Regions from separate parts of the Homo sapiens genome. Here regions 1 and 2 are each linked to region 3. Evidence: promoter capture Hi-C in 16 types of primary human blood cells and fetal thymus (Javierre and others, 2016). All regions are on one chromosome and are shown on one strand. Each heading gives the region's core, a stretch centred on a gene start or on the middle of the fragment in contact. The rest is flanking DNA. Distances are from core to core; before and after follow the strand shown. Region 1 overlaps RECQL (RecQ like helicase). Region 2 overlaps PYROXD1 (pyridine nucleotide-disulphide oxidoreductase domain 1). Region 3 holds the start of C2CD5 (C2 calcium dependent domain containing 5).

Region 1 (3,467 bases), core at 105-2,604, 1.1 Mb after region 3:
TCAAGTGATGTCTGCCTGATCTCTGGTTATCAGTTTTTCATCTAATGGTTTTAGCAGCCACTGAGTGGCACCGTGAGAGCCATGATTTCATTAGGGAGGTGCAAAATGGTGATATCTAATTCTGTCACTCTTTCTTCATGTATTAGTTATACTTTTTCTACAAAAATAAACTTTTTCCTCATTAACTCTGCATGATGAAAATGCTTGATTTTTTTTTCCCTTTCTTTATGAGTTTTCAGAAAGAGTTGGTTTTCTAGCATTCTCCAAAGGTGGTCAACAAGATTTTTAAGGTTTTCTTTCCCCAAGTATCACTATAAACTTACAAGCTTTGACGTATAATATGATTCACCTTTGGAATCATATATATATATATATCAATATGTATATATGTAATGCTGAAATAGTCCTGTCCTTGGGCAGTGAGAGCCTCTTTAAGTTGGTTCCTGAATCCTTTCTCTTAACCCCATTGCTTCTGTTCCTTGCTTTCTTTTGCAGTAAGATAATCCATGTTCATTTTATGCATTTCCTGCCCAGACCTAGAGTCAGCCATACCTCTAAGAAGCCCTGGTTCCTTTAGTTTACCCATATATTTTTGTTTTATTTAAACTCCATGTCATTCTATTATAACTGCTCCTTCCTCCAACAAAATCAATCTGTGGAGAAAACTGCCTTCTAATAATGTACTTTCTTAAAATTGAAAAAGAACATAATAGTAATAGAAAGTAATTTAGAAAGTTGCAGATAATTACAAGTTCATGATATATCCCTACTCTTGAAAGTTGGAGAGAGAAAAAAAGAACATCTGTATCCTAGAATATATCTAGGAGTTAACAAACTGCTTCTTTGCTGGGATGATGAAAGTAGTTTGACTGTCTCTTTCTATCTCATTCACTGGCATGTTTTTATACTTTTTTGGTCCTCTTTAGATTAGAAGGAAAAAAAATGACATCTAATATGCTAAGTATTGTATAGAATTGTATGAGTACTAAGAATCTAATAACTGTTACCTTTTAAGATTTATTATTATTATCTTAATTTAATGAGTGATACTTTGTGAAACCCCATGGTCTTTATATTTAAATAAAGAGATTAAAAGATTTGATGGTATCATTTGAGAAGTTAATAAATAATAAATTTTGTTCACATACATAAAGGGATTATAAATATAATGTTAAAATTAATAAAACCCACCTTTATAACCATAACAATTGCATCTAGCTCACATTTTAGAATATATTATGAACAATTTAGGATTATGCCTTCATAGAATAAATGCTCTTCATTGGAGTATCTGTTTGTGTTCTTTTTTGTCAAGTGAGTTTTTTTTAGTCATCAACAATGTAGACGTTAGTAAATAACTAGAATGCTATTTACACAGCTGCCATGATGTTTCGTACTGAGACATGGTTTCAGTTTTAATGAACTAAACATCTGCTCCTAGAAGAGCCAAAGGCTATTATTGCTTTGGAGAAATGAACGTTTTCATTTACCACCTAGTATTTCAGTCTGCTAGCTTAGTTTTACTATCATTGTGTCTATTTTTTTCTTTTAATAGGAGCATGTTAAATGGGTTCATGCTGAAATGGTAAATAAAAACTCCGAGTTAAAGCTGATTTATGTGACTCCAGAGAAAATTGCAAAAAGCAAAATGTTTATGTCAAGACTAGAGAAAGCCTATGAAGCAAGGAGATTTACTCGAATTGCTGTGGATGAAGTTCACTGCTGTAGTCAGTGGGGACATGATTTCAGACCTGGTATGTATGTTTTATCTAGAAAACTTTTTGATGTCATAGACCGTGTCCTTACTCAGCTTGGCATGATGGAAATCTCTGCTTCTATTAAAATCATCCTCAAGTAGTTACACATTGAATATCCGTTATCCAGAATGTTCGGAACCAAAAGGGTTTTAAATTTTGGATTTTTTTGGATTTGGGATGATCAACCTGTATTACTTATTTTATCTTGCCTCATTATGAGGAGGACTGAGAGGCAGAATGTTTAGTTTCATTCCCCACTGTAGTCTGTAGTTTAATTGCCCTTGTCAATTATGGACAAATATGGACACATATGTTTACTAGCCAATAGTGGACATCTTTGTGGCATTTATGACATCTAGGTATTCCTTCACATTTGTTGAAGAATTTGCATCTGTTTCAAAGTTGTCATCTTTAGTCATCATTCTGAGGGTCTTTTCAGCACCCACATACAACTCCTCAGCATGAAACTTTGATGAGATATTTTTAGTGACCTTTTTCTTCACCCCACCACCTAATCCTACAGTCATAGCCTAAAGTAAGTTACTCAGAATTGTTATATGCAAAAAAATCTTAAATTCAAAAATCCGACTCCCTGGCTTCAACCTGTTTTCCTTCTGAAGCTTTTCACACATTAGGATTTGCTGGATCCCTCTTTTAATCCCTGCTTATTTATCCAGGCTCCTGTCCCTACATAGCAATCACTCTGTTTCCCGTCCAGACACTGTGCTGTTGCCCCTTACTTCTGTTATATTTGCCCTGGACTGCCTGGCCATTCTGCCAGTCTGCTTCAGGCGTTGTGCCTGAGATGCTGGATTCATCTAGACTTTGGCTTTCCCCATTCCTGCTGCTTGGCTACTAAACATTGTCAAAAAAACAAAAATTGCATAACTCCATTCAGCTTTTCATTATCCTCAGCCGTCCTTATACTTGTCCCTATTTCAACTCCTTTATACATTTCTTCCAACAAATGTCTCCTATCATTAACTTTCTATTCAGGCCCTAACTTGTACTTAGCAGATGCTTTCTGCTTCACAGAAAATAGATGCCATCAGGTATGAACAGCTCCTCTTTCTACTTTCAAACATTAGTAATCTTTTTTTTTTTTCTTTTGTTAAGGCAGAAAAGACCACTGCTTTATAAGGCTAACCATGACCACTCCCGTTTCATCCTTTCCTGCCTTCTTAAGATCTTGCACTGCCAAATTCCTCACTCCTTCACCTTCAGGCTCTTTTGTCCTCTCCCTAAAAACAGAAACTAAAACACCCTTCTGACCTTTTAATGTTACTGTCCTCTTTCTGTTCTTTCTGTCACCATCAGACTTCTCAGCTTACCATCTCCATTTTTCACCTTTAACCCATTCTGAACTCATTGAATCATGCTTCTGCCACCACCATACTACTGAAACAGGTCATCGGTGACCCACCCCCAGATGAGACCACTTCATCAAGTGGTCTCATCTTCATTCCTCTTCCCACTTCACTTCAGTAACATTTTATATATTCACCTCTCACCTTGCCACATTCTACTCCCTTGGTTACTGTACAGCAGTGCTGTTCAGTGTCTTCCCTTCCATTCTCACCTCCTTCGCTCTTCCTGTCTTCTTTTTAAATATTAGTGTTCCCTAGGGTTCTGACCTCAGTCTTTACCCTTTCTTACGTTTCTCCAGGGATAGTGAGCTTGTAGCCCGAAGACTGCATTCTCTACCTACAG
Region 2 (3,360 bases), core at 29-2,528, 1.1 Mb after region 3:
CTTAGGTTCAATTAATTTATTAGAATATCTCACAGAATTTGGGGAAACACTTTACTTACATTTACTGGTTTATTATCAAGGATGTCACGAAGAAACAGATGAAGAAATACATAAGGCAAAGCATATAAGAAGGGGCATGAAGCTTCTATGCCCTCTCCAGATAGACCACCCTCTAGCAACTTCCACATGTTCAGCTATCCAGAAGCTCTCCAAACCCAGTCCTTTTGGGTTTTCATGGAAACTGTGTTATGTAGGTGACTGATTAAATTACTGGCTGCTAGTGATTGGCTTAACCTTCAACCTCTTTCCCTTCCTGTAGGTTGGAAAGTCTAAACTCTAATCATGTCTTGGTCTTTCCTGTGACCAGTCCCCATTCTGAAGCCACCTAGGGGCTAACCAGTCAACTCGTTAGCATACAAAAGGACACATCACTTTGGAGATGCCAAAAATTTTAGGAGTTGTGTGCCAGAAAACTGCAGACACAACATTTTATTGTGCTTCACTACTGTTTTGCAGATAGTGTGTTTTTTACAAATTGAAGGTTTGTGACAAACCCACATCAAGCAAGTCTTATCAGTGCCATTTTTCCAATAGCATGTGCTCACTTTGTGTCTCTGTCACATTTTGGTAATTCTTGCAATATTTCAGTTTTCATCATTATTAGATCTTTTATGGTGATCTGTGATTAGTAATCTTTGATGTACTACTGTAATTGTCTTGGGGTGTCATGAACCACACCCATCTAACACAGTGAACTTAATCGATAAATGTTCTGTGTTCTGACTGCTCCATCAACCAGCTGTTGTCCTATGTCTCTCCCTCTCCTTGGGCCTCCTTATTCCCGGAGACACAAGAATATTGAAACCAGGGCAATCAGTTACTCTGTAGTGGCCTCTAAGTGTTCAAGTGAAAGTAAGGATCACACATCTCTCACTTTAAATCAAAAGGTAGCAATGATTATTAGGGTTATTGAGGAAGGCACATGGAAAGCCAGGCCTCTTGCCCTGAACAGATGGCCAAATTGTGAATGCAAAGGAAACATTCTTGAAGTAAATCTAAAGTGGTATTCCAATGAACACATGAATGATGAGAAAGCGAAACAGTCTTCTTGCTGACATGGAGAAAGTTTTAGTGGTGTGGAGAGAAGATCAAATCAGCCACAACATTCCCTTAGGCCAAAGCCTAACCCAGAGTAAGCCCCTAACTGTTTTCAATTCTGTAAAGGCTGAGAGAAGTGAGGAAGCTGCAGAAGAAAAGGCTGAAGCTAGTAGAGGTTGGTTCATGATGTTTAAGTAAAGAAGCCATCTCTACAACAAAAATATACAATTGATAACTGATGAATGTGGCTACACTAAACAGTAGATTTTCAGTGTACATGAAACAGCCTTCCAGTGGAAAAAGATGCTATCTAGGACCTTCACAACTATAGAGGAGAAGTCAATGCCTGGCTTCAAAGGACAGGCAGACTCTCCTGTTAGGGGATAATGTAACTGGTGACTTGAAGTTGAAGCCAATGCCTATTTACCACTGTGAAAGTTCTAGGGCCCTTAAGAACTATACTACATCTACCCTGCCTGTCCTCTGTAAATGGAACAACAAAGCCTGGATGACAGCATTATATGGTTTGGGCCTGGTTCTCCACCCAAATCTCATATCAAATTGTAATCCCCAATGTTGGAGGTACGGCCTGGTGGGAGGTGACTGGATCATGGGGACAGTTTCTAATAGTTTAGCACCATCCTTAGTGCTGTTTTCATGTTAGAGTTCTCATGAGATCTGGTTGTTTAAAGGTGTGTGGCACCAGCCCCCTTCTCTCTCTTCCTCTTGCTCTGGCCATGTAAGAAGTGCATAATTCCCCTTCCCCCGTGATTGAAAGTTTCCTGAGGCCTCCCCAGTCATGCTTCCTGTACAGCCCGTGGGACCATGAGCCAATTAAACCTCTTTTCTTTATAAATATTACCTACTCTCAGGTATTTCTTTATATACTGTGAGAATGGAGTAATACACAGCACATCTGTTTACATAGTTTACTGAATATTTGAAGCCCACCATTGAGACCTACTGCTCAGAAAAAAAAAAAAAAAGATTCATTTCAAAATACTACACTCATTGACAAGGCATTTGGTCACCCAAGAACTCAGACAGAGATGCACAAGGAGATGAATGTTGTTTTCATGCCTGCTAATACAATATCCATTCTGCAGCCCATGGATCCAGGAGTAATTCTTACTTTCAAGTCTTATTAAAGAAATGCATTTCATAAGGCTATAGCTGCCACAGATAGTGATGCATCTGATGGATCTGGGAAAAGTACATTGAAAACCTTCTGGAAAGAATTCACCATTCTAGATGTTATTAAGAACATTCATGATTCAAGGGAGTAAGTCAAAATATCAACATTAACAAAAGCTTGAAAGAAGTTTACTCCAACCTTCATGGATGACTTTGAGGGATTCAAGATTTCAATGGAGAAAGGCAGATATGGTGGAAATAACAAAAGAACTGTAATTAGAAATGAATCCTGAAGATGAGACTACATTGCTGCAATCTCATGATAAAATTTGAAAAGATGAGTTGTTGTTTCTCATGGATGAGCAAAGAACGTAGTTATCTGAGATGGAGTTTACTTCTGGTGAGGATGCTGTGAGTATTGCTGAAATGATGAAGGATTTAAAATATTACATATACTTGGTAAAGCAGTAGCAGAGTTTGAGAGAATTGACTTTTGAAAGAACTTCTACTCTGGGCAAAATGCTATAAAACAGCTTCGCACGCTACAGAGAAGTCTTTCACGAGAGGAAGAGTCAATTGATGGGGCAAACTTGTTATTTTAAGAAATTGCCACAGCCACCCAAACCTTCAGCAAGCACCACCCTGATGAGTCATCAGCCACCAATACCGAGGCAAAACTTTCCACCAAAAAAAGATTATGATTTGCTGAAGGCTCAGATGATTGTTAGCATATTAAGCAATAAAGTATCTTTAAATTAACGTTATGTGCATTGTATTTTTAGACACAATGCTAATGCACATTTAATAGACTGCAGTATGTTATAAACATAACTTTTGCAGGCACTGGGAAACTGAAAAATTCGTGTGGCTCACTTTATTGTGGTATATCATTTCCTGTGATGGTCTGGGACTGAACCTGCAATACTCCAAGGTATGACTGTATATATATTACAGTATCACACCTCAAGAGTTAAAACGTAGGCTGAGATCCAGTCTTCGATGCTTTGACATTCAGTTTTCTTTGGTGGCCAAATGGACCAACTGCATTGGAGGTCTTTTCCTAACACTATGGATTTTAAGTAAAGTGACCTAACAGTTCGTTGACTATATATTTATTACCAGTCTTTA
Region 3 (3,512 bases), core at 592-3,091:
AAGGGTATTTTAAGGGCAGAGTCAGACTCCAGAAAAAGCTGCAGGTGGACCTAAGGAAATTCGCATGGGATCTATGACCCCTATTCCTTTGACATAGTTTGAATTGATAAAAGTTTCTCTAGTCCAAAAAGCAAGCGATTTTTTTAGATTTTTATTTTGAGGAAGTCGTTTTCTCTGTAGGAGTTCAATTTCTCACTTATGTGAACAATATTCCTGCCATAGAAGGAATTTTTGTCATGAAAAGATAATTCGGGATCACTACTGTTTGGAGTATTTACTCTATTGAGTATTTTCGAAGTTAAAAAGATCATACGGATATCTTCACTTAGGAATGAAATGTTACAATCTTTGAGCCGGCATGAACTCTGATTTTGTTGATACTGGGTATACTGTCAATGCTGATTTTGATATTTGGTAAGGACTGATTTATTTACATCTTGTGTGTGCCTCAATTTCCCTAATATGGTCTGAGCCTGTAGATAACACCTTACTTTATTTATAGTTGGGTCAATTCTTCAAGATGTTTAACGCTCTCCATGTTTATTTCTTGTGGTTGACTATACTTTCCATGGTAGGAAGTCCTGAACTTCTGCTACTACTGTAGGTCTTATCTTTAGGCTTGTGGATGCTTAATAAGAACACTGAGATGATCTAAGAGTGCAGGACATTTAATTAAAAAAAAATTTTTTTTAAGAGACAGAGTTTTGCTCTGTTGCCCAGGTTGGGGTGCAGTGGTGAGATGGCAGCTCACTGCAGCCTCAAACTCCTGGGCTCAAGCAATTCTCCCAGATTCTCCCACCTCAGCTTCCTAGGTAGCTGAGACCACAGACGAGCCACCGGCCCAGCTAATTTTTGCATTTCTTGTAAAGAAGGGGTCTTACTGTGTTGCCTCGTCTCCATGAGGCTGGTCTCGAACTCCTGGACTCAATCGATCCTCCCACCTCAGCCTCCCACAGTGCTGGGATTACAAATCTGAGCCACCACACCTACCAGCAGAAACTTTTTTTCAAGAGGAGACTTTGGATTTCAAGGTGACCTCCCCCACCCCGCCCACAGTAATATCTGTGACCCAGTGCACAACACAAGTGCCTATGACTGAATAAAATATTTCACTAAATATTTATTTCACTATTCGAGATGTGCCTGGTATCTCTATTTCTTTCTTTCTTTTTTTTCTTTTTTTGGAGACAGAGGAGTGATCTCGGCTCACTGCAACCTCCGCCTCGCAGGTTCAAGCGATTTTCCTGCCTCAGCCTCCTGAGTAGCTGGAATTAGAGGCGCTCGCCACGACGCCCAGCTAATTTTTGTATTTTTAGTAGAGACGGGGTTTCGCCATGTTGTCCAGGCTGGTCTTGAACTCCTGACCTCAGGTGATCCGCCCGCCTCGGCCACCCAAAGTGCTGGGATTACAGACGTGAGCCACTGTGCCTGGCCATCTAACTCTATTTCACAGAAAACTGGAACCACCACACGCACCTGTACCCCTTCCAAGTAGAAACCAGCTAATTTGGTTTTACGAATCACTAAAGGCCGACTGAAAACGCTCTTCTAGCAGTCTTCGCTGCTACTCCATCTATCACAGCCCATCCGAAAAGCGGCGGTAGCAGCTGGGAAGGCCGCGGCCGGAGGCTGTCACAGAGCAGCACTCGCGCTTCGGCCCGCAAGATGGAGCGTTTCCCTCCAGGGAAGCAGCGCCGCACCTATCCACAGCCCCCACTCGGTGGATGATGCAGGACTCGGCCCATTTCCCTGCCCTCCAGCTTTCTCAACGTCAGCCCCGCCCCCTTATCTTTCCTCGGCGAGTTTAGTTTCGCCCCGCCAAGTGGGCAGAGCGCCGAACGATCGATGCTTTCTTCCGCGCCCCGAGAGCCGCCATTTTTGAGAGCGGGGGAGGAGAGACAAGCAGGGGCGGCAGAGGCTCAACGGGATGCTGACTGGGTTTTGCTTTTCGTCCCAGCCTTGTGGGGCCGGGACGGAAGAACCCATCAAAGCCCTTCCTCCCGCCGCCTCTCCGGAATGAGGTCTCAGCACCCGCGCGGGACAGCACCCTTCCTCCTGCGACAGTGAGTGGCGACCCGTGGCGCGACTGCCGGGCGCCCGCGCGCGCCCCCGCGCGCTCCTTCGCTGTCAGTTACCCCGCGCGCCTCCGCCCCTCTCCCGCCGGCCCCGCGCTCGGCGCAGACTCGTTTGTTTGTTTCTGCAGGAGCCCAAGAAGAGGCCGAAACCGAGACCATGCCAGGGAAGCTGAAGGTGAAAATCGTGGCCGGGCGCCATTTGCCAGTGATGGACCGTGCTAGTGACCTGACTGATGCCTTCGTGGAGGTTGGTGCAGGGTCCTGCCCCTCAAAACACAGGGAGCGCCAAGCCCTGTGAAGGATCTACCCACCTCGCCCCCAGCCCCTCAGCCTATTCCCCCCTCGACTGCCCTCCCTTCGGCCGTGGTTGTCCAGCTCTCCCACGAGGGATGACCGCCGAGACCTCAGTGTGTGCGATGGGTGCACGGCTTGCAGGCGTCCGCGGCACAGTCCGCTGCGCGGGGAGGCTTGTACTGTTGTGCATGCGGGGGTGACCCTGATGTCAGGACTCATTAACAGGCCACCTGCCACTCAGGAGATCCCAAGGCGTGGCCGCGCAGCCACCGACACACTCACACACATACACACACACACACACAAATGCCGGAATGACTCTGATGTCAGGACTCATTAACAGGCCACCTGCCACTCAGGAGATCCCAAGGTGTGGCCCCGCAGCCACTGAAACACACACACACACAGGCACACACACACCCTTGGAAGGGGTGGCCAGAGTGCTGGACATCATGTTTAAGAAGGTGCATGAAGCCCTTTATGGGCACTTGGAGTCCCACAGTGCGAGGAAATCCACTCTCATGCCTAACATTTTGTGAATCTGCCATGCACGTTCTAAAACACAACTGCAACACTTCCTGCTCTTGTATAGGCTGGTAGGTCTGATGAGGTGTTTCAGGGTAATTTAGCGCCTTGAGGTAGGAAGTCATTTAATTGCCATGGACTTAAATTGCAAAATTGCTTTTTAAGTCTAATGATTAGTTTAAAAGTCATGCAAATTAGTAAAGGCCTACGGCCGGAAGGTAATAACCCAGAGTCTGAAAGAAGCCAAGTAAAGATTGTAATAAAAATTGGCGTGATGAGCCAGAGCATTAGAGCAGCAATCATTTGGGCTATTAGTGCTTAGAATTGATGGATAGATATATCATAATATATAGCTCGATTTCATCTCAATATTCCTGATGTTTCCTAAATGTTCTCTAACCGAATAATTACAGTTCACTGCCTCCCCTGCCCATTGTCATGGTGATTCTTAATCACTTCATTTGAGAAAGTTCTTGAGTGCTCTTGTGCCAGATGTTAGGTGATAGGAATCCACAAATAACTAAAACATAGTGTTTGCTTTCCGGTAGTTCAGACATTGACCCACACAGCCTATTTAATAACTAATAGGTAACGTGTTGAATTTAATAATTGCCAGAT

Evidence for each region. Contacts are between HindIII fragments. The CHiCAGO score rates a contact against its expected background, and 5 or more counts as called.
Region 1: a fragment that was not itself captured here is called in contact with the fragment with the promoter of C2CD5 in region 3 in 1 of 17 cell types (total B cells); the score reaches 6.2 in total B cells.
Region 2: a contact is called between a fragment that was not itself captured here and the fragment with the promoter of C2CD5 in region 3, in 1 of 17 cell types (non-activated CD4 T cells). The highest score is 7.3, in non-activated CD4 T cells.

What each region holds. Positions count from the first base shown.
Region 1 is chr12:21,481,663-21,485,129 of GRCh38, reverse strand. It overlaps RECQL (RecQ like helicase), which reads left to right. Exons shown (of 15, transcript NM_002907.4): 6 at 1,556-1,754. Among named protein-coding and RNA genes, the nearest start is that of RECQL, 18 kb to the left of the region's middle. The HindIII fragment of the contact is 2,051 bases long and covers 329-2,379 here.
Region 2 is chr12:21,456,158-21,459,517 of GRCh38, reverse strand. All of the region lies in intron 7 of PYROXD1 (pyridine nucleotide-disulphide oxidoreductase domain 1), which reads right to left. Among named protein-coding and RNA genes, the nearest start is that of PYROXD1, 20 kb to the right of the region's middle. The HindIII fragment of the contact is 2,267 bases long and covers 145-2,411 here.
Region 3 is chr12:22,542,871-22,546,382 of GRCh38, reverse strand. It overlaps C2CD5 (C2 calcium dependent domain containing 5), which reads left to right and starts at 1,841. Exons shown (of 27, transcript NM_001286176.2): 1 at 1,841-2,063; 2 at 2,204-2,322. The coding sequence starts at 2,233. RefSeq lists enhancers at 1,711-1,940, 3,081-3,512 and a silencer at 2,081-2,200. The HindIII fragment of the contact is 7,848 bases long and covers 1-3,512 here.